Linked DNA regions of Homo sapiens: region 2 is linked to region 1. Evidence: promoter capture Hi-C in human tissues and cell types (Jung and others, 2019). All regions are on one chromosome and are shown on one strand. The core of a region is centred on a gene start or on the middle of the fragment in contact, and the rest is flanking DNA. Distances in the headings are between cores, read along the strand shown. Region 1 holds the start of KCNH6 (potassium voltage-gated channel subfamily H member 6). Region 2 overlaps CCDC47 (coiled-coil domain containing 47).

Region 1 (2,881 bases), core at 224-2,723:
AAGAGCTGAGACTGGATAAGGCAGGCCCACCCCACTTTGCCAGCCAAAAGCCCCCATGCCTTGCCTGGCCACAGAGGTCTTCAGGAGGTGACTCCTCCTCTAATCCTTGGAGCAGACGGAGAGGAGGGAAGGTTAATTTCCATCCCAGCTGCCTGACCGCTGGGGCTGACAGTAAGATAGTGGAGAGCCAGGAGACCAGGGACACAGCAGAGGGATGGCAGAGCAGGAGGCCCTGCCCCAGGCCAGAACCAGTGGGTGGCCCAGCCTGATCCCTAGCTCCTGCAAAGGACCTCAGAAGGCATCATATCCAATGCCTGTGGAGGAACCAAGGCCCCTAGAAGAAACAGGGTTTGTTCAGGCCCTTTGGACCCTGGGTCAGTGCCTTCCCCAAGGCCACCCTGGCTGGACAAGACAGAGGGCCAAGCCTGCCCTGCAAAGCCTCTGGCCTGAGTATGCCTCACCATCCTTGCGGTAGTAGAGGATGTCCACCTTGCACTCCTCAGCCCCCAGCAGGGCCTGCGCTAGGCGGGACACGGCGCTGCTTGGTGTGTTGGGGCCTGTGAGGAAGTCGCAGGTGCAGGGTTGCTGCATCACCTCCACTCGGGAGTAGCCGAAGAGTTCGCAGAAGCCGTCGTTGCAGTAAATGATGGCGCAGTTCTCCATCTGAGCATTGGCAATCAGGAACTTCCGACCTGGGGTGGGAGGTGGGAGGCAAAAAGTCCATGGGAGCCAGGATCCAGCGGCTGGGAGGGAAAGATCATAAGGACTCTTGGTGGCAGTAAGGGGAATTTAGGCAGAGGAGCAGGGCAGTGACCGGAATGAGGGAGGGAGTCAGGCCTGGGGATTGTGGGAAGACTAGGGCAGTGAGGGTCTTGAGGTGGAAGGAAGGCCCAAGGCCTCCTGGAAACAGGAAAAGTGTGGGGAAGGGAGGCAGGGATGTGACCAGATGGGGGTCAGGCCTGGGAAAGCTCCTGGGAAGACCAGAACCAGGATATGAAAAGGAAGGAAAAGAAGGACTCAGAGAAGCCTCTGGAGGACGCGGATGAGGGGGCAGGCAGTGGCTGGAAGGGGAGGTTCGAACTTGGGGCACCAAGGAAACAGCTGGCAGTAGGGAGGGAAGGCCTGCACGCTGCTCCTTGTGTTCCAGAAAAGAGGACAGCATTTAAGGCAAGCGGGTCCCCCTGGAGGAGAAGGTGTTGGGGACATCAAAAGAAGGATTTTTCATTCAGCACCCGGCACTCACCACCTTGCCCGGTTAGAAGTTAGTAAAGGGGTCCAGCCCCCCCTTTCACGGAACCAGGACTCCAGATCGTCCCCCCGCCCCAACATACACACACTCACTTTGGCCCTCGAACTTGCGGATGATGGTGTCCAGGTAAGTGTTTTGGGGAGCGACGTGGCCCCTGCGGACCGGCATCTTTCGGCCGCGGCCCCTGCCCGGAGCCACAGGCGCCACTGGCTCCCGGCGTCTCCGTCTGTCCTCGGGCTCAGCAGCGTCCGGCTCCGGTGGGCGCCGCCCCCGGGGAGGGCCGCCGGGCTCCGCGCCCCGCCCGCCAGCCTGCGTCTGCCCTCCCCTCCCCACCCCTGCCCCACCTCTCCTTTCCTTTCCTGCGCTCCCCTGCCCTCCCCTCGCCTCCCTGGCCCGCGCCCTCCTGGCCTCCTCTCCTCTGCGCCGGCCCGGGAGCTGTCCACGCCTTGGTGCTGAAAGAAGCCGCGCGCCGGCGGCGGGGAGGGGGCCGCTGGGCGGGGCAGTTTCTCTGGGACCCGACGGGGCTGGGGCGGGGCCTTGCATCCTACGGGGCGGGGCGGGGCGGGGCGGGGCGGGGCTGGGGTCCTGGCCCTGGAATAGGGCAGGTGTTCTCTGAGGAGCTGCTTCTGTTCCTGTCCTAAGGGCCAATGGCCTCAGCACCTCTCCGATTCCCTCCCAGTACCAAAGGGCAGTCTCCCCTCCCAGTGCAGGGAGTTTCCCAGGCAGGAGGGGGGCTACAGATGGGGTTGTTAGGGGCCTCAGGTGGTCTTTGGCTGAAAGCTTTCTTCCGGGTCTGACCACTGGGCCCGACCCTGGCAATGATACCATTAGGCCTCTGGCCTGCTCTTATAGCAAGTGATCTCCAGCTCAGCTGAGACCTAGGTCCCATGCAGAGCTCCTGCCGCCAAGTCCAGCCAGGGCCTGGTCCTGAGAGGAGGGGGTAGGAGTACACATGAAGACGTGCAAGAAATATGCAATAAGGGCCAGGCGCGGTGGCTCACGCCTGTAATCCCAGCACTTTGGGAGGCAGAGGTGGGCAGATTACCTGAGGTCAGGAGTTTGAGACCAGCCTGGCCAACATGGCGAAGCCCTGTCTCTACTGAAAAAACAAAAATTAGCTGAGTGGTGGCGCAAACCTATAATCCCAGCTACTTGGGAGGCTGAAGTGGGAGAATCGCTTGTACCCGGGAGGCGGAGGTTGCAGTGAGCCGAGATTGCGCCACTGTACTCCAGCCTGGTAGACAGAGCGAGACGCGAGACTCCATCTGAAAATAAAAAGAAAGAAAGAAAGAAGTATGCAATAAGATGCCTTCTTCAGAGGCCTGAGAGCTCTTAGCATACAGGTACATCTTGGAAGGAGAACAGATTTAAAACCACCTATTAGCAAGTGACCACTGATAAAAGTGTCTGAGTACTGAGTACTGACTGAAAATGAACACACTAGAAAAAGCAAATGGGGGTGGGAATAGGTTTATTGAAAGAGGCTTCCTGGAGAGGAAGGGGAGAAGGGGACTACTGTTCACTGAGCATCTGGGTGGGCTTGTAGTGCTGCAGAGGGTTTGGTGAGCAATTTTGAGCCTGATCTTGGAGGGCAAGCATTCAAATGGGGCATGCACCTTAGGCAAAGGCCAA
Region 2 (2,881 bases), core at 220-2,719, 240 kb before region 1:
TTTAATTACAGTAGGATCATTGTGAAAAGCAGTGAATGCCAAAGGAGTTTTTATATTACTTTGCAATAATTGGTTAGCCTTTGATGATTATTGAATCCTTATATGTAACAAAAGTTCTGTTTTAGACAGATGCTGGTAGTTTTTAGGGAGGAAAAGTAGGGAGTGGGGAGAGCATTAAGACGATACCATTTAAAATAATATGGTGGCTCTTCAGCAGGTGGGGGTAACTTGTAGTGGCTATAGGAATCAAAGAAGGAAACACCAGGATTTGATGGCTGATAGATTTCAAAGGAAAAAGAAGGCAAAACATTAGATATCTTGTTCTTTTCAACAAGCAAGACTGGAAAAATGTGATTGATATTAATATACGAATAGAGAAATTCAGATACCTGATGATTTTGAGATGACTATAGGCAGGGATTGGGTCAGCCTGAGGGGAGGCCTGTGAAGTAAGAATGGTCTTTATATTGTTTTAAAGTTTTTTTTAAAAAAAGAACAATATGCAGCAGAGACCAGTATGTACCCCATGAAGCCTAGAATATTTACTATCTTACTAGATACACGAAAAGTTTGTAGGGCGTCAAAACAGATATGTCTTCAAGGTTACAGTGAGTTATGACATAGGGCTGGTGTTTAGATGAGGGACAGGACTGGAAATACAGCCTAAATGGGTTTGATGGTTGAAATATACTTTTCAAATTTCAGCTCAAATGGTCTCCCCACTTTTTTTTTTGTAAAGCCTTACCTATTTGGGAAAATGGTTACATTGTTGTCCATGTTTTCATATAATTTGGCACATATTTTGTCACAGATATGATATCATTATATTTGTTAATGCAGAAGCTTTTTTCACGTATTAGAAAACTTAATGTTCTTCAAAAAGCTATAAAATGATGATACATTGAATTCCATCATACACACTAAGAACAATTGGTTAGCAAAAAATTACTGCTTCTAAGCAAGTAATATGAAAGCACAGCCACCTACCACATTTGAGATGCAGCCTGAGAAGTGGTTCATAGCATGGACTCTGGAGGCAAAACTCTGGGATTAAATCACAGCTCTTTGTCACTTGGTAGTTGTACTACTTAGCATCTCTCTGCCCCATTTTCCTTATTAGTGAAATGGGGATGTTAATGTTGCAGCTTTCCTTAGAGGGTTGTTATGAGGATTAAATTAGTTGCTTTTTGTAAAGTCTTTGGAACAGTGTCTAGCACATAGTGATTTAAGTGTTTGCTCTTATGATAATTATGTTCATGCATGAACACAAATCAATCTAAGGGTGAATGGCTTTTTTATTCATGGATTATTCTTGTTACCACTAACAGATAAATAGCTACATCTTATTCCTTCATTTTTACCTCCTTCTCATTTTCTATAGAAAGCTTTTTAATAGGCCCTCAAAAAATGCTTATTGAATACTCTATGTAAATGGACAGAGTTTTAGAAAACCCAACCTAAAGAAATTAAATGACTTGGGCTGGGCACAGTGGCTCACACCTGTAATCCCAGCACTTTGGGAGGCCGAGACAGATGGATCACCCTGAGGTCAGGAGTTCACAACTAGCCTGGCCAACATGGTGAAACCCCATCTCTACTAAAAATACAAAAATTAGCCAGGCGTGGTGGCACATGCCTGTAATCCCAGCTACTCGGGAGGCTGAGGCAGGAGAATCGCTTGAACCCAGGAGGCAGAGGTTGCAGTGAGCCAAGATCACACCATTGTGCTCCAACCTGGGCGACAAGAGCAAAACTCCGTCTCAAAAAAAAAGAAATTAAATAAATGACTTGATGACTTGTTGAAGATTTTACAGATATGTAGTGCCAGGATCCAGACTAGAACCCAAGCCTCTTGACCTTACTTCATTGTTCTTTATATAATGTGGTCTGAATCTAATAGTACCAAATAAGAGAAAAGCAGGAGAGGTTTATAGATTTTTACTGTTTATAAAATCTGATCAGTATGTATAGAATGGCAATCCATTTTGGGGTTCTCTTTTTTTTTAAGCTTTTTTTCTCAAGGTGCAATGAAAGCCTTCCACACTTTCTGTGTTGTCCTTCTGGTGTTTGGGAGTGTCTCTGAAGCCAAGTTTGATGATTTTGAGGATGAGGAGGACATAGTAGAGTATGATGATAATGACTTCGCTGAATTTGAGGATGTCATGGAAGACTCTGTTACTGAATCTCCTCAACGGGTCATAATCACTGAAGATGATGAAGATGAGACCACTGTGGAGTTGGAAGGGCAGGATGAAAACCAAGAAGGAGATTTTGAAGATGCAGATACCCAGGTGAGGCTCTTTTTATTAATTTATTGGAAAAATTTGTAACTAGCACCTTTCCCAAACATTAAAATTAATCCTCAGGCTCAAGAGACCTTTACTGTCTGGAGTCTTCATTTTCATTCACTAGGTAGAGCTCTTCTAAATGTTCTGTGGTAAGTTTCCACCTTTTACATTAACAGAATGAATTGTGTTCTTCTATTGAAACCCTGACTGGAAGAGGGGTTAGAGAATAGATACTGTTTGTGGGTGAGAATTGTATTATTTAGAACTTTGCAATTGGCTGGGCACGGTGGCTCATGCCTGTAATCCCAGCACTTTGGGAGGCCAAGGCAGGCAGATCACCCAAGGTCAGGAGTTTGAGACCAGCCTGGCCAACATGGTGAAACCCTGTCTCTACTAAAAATACAAAATTAGCTGGGCGTGGTGGTGCGTGCCTGTCATGTCAGCTACTTGGGAGGCTGAGCCAAGAGAATCGCTTGAACCTGGGAGGTGGAGGTTGCAGTGAGCTGAGATTGAGCCACTGCACTTCAGCCTGGGTGATAGAGCAAGACCTTGTCTCCAAAAAAAAAAAGAAAAGAAAAAACTTTGTCATCAAA

The links. The method cuts DNA at HindIII sites, captures the fragments that hold promoters and counts their contacts. A contact is called where the count stands out against the background at its distance.
Region 2: a contact is called between a fragment that was not itself captured here and the fragment with the promoter of KCNH6 in region 1, in 2 of the 25 tissues and cell types used here (dorsolateral prefrontal cortex and spleen).

The regions. Positions count from the first base shown.
Region 1 is chr17:63,521,950-63,524,830 of GRCh38, reverse strand. KCNH6 (potassium voltage-gated channel subfamily H member 6) reads right to left here and starts at 1,473. Exons shown (of 13, transcript NM_001278919.2): 1 at 1,342-1,473; 2 at 462-692. The coding sequence starts at 1,417. The HindIII fragment of the contact is 20,898 bases long and covers 1-2,881 here.
Region 2 is chr17:63,765,322-63,768,202 of GRCh38, reverse strand. CCDC47 (coiled-coil domain containing 47) reads left to right here. Exons shown (of 13, transcript NM_020198.3): 2 at 2,009-2,291. The coding sequence starts at 2,028. Among named protein-coding and RNA genes, the nearest start is that of CCDC47, 6.8 kb to the left of the region's middle. The HindIII fragment of the contact is 5,197 bases long and covers 1-2,881 here.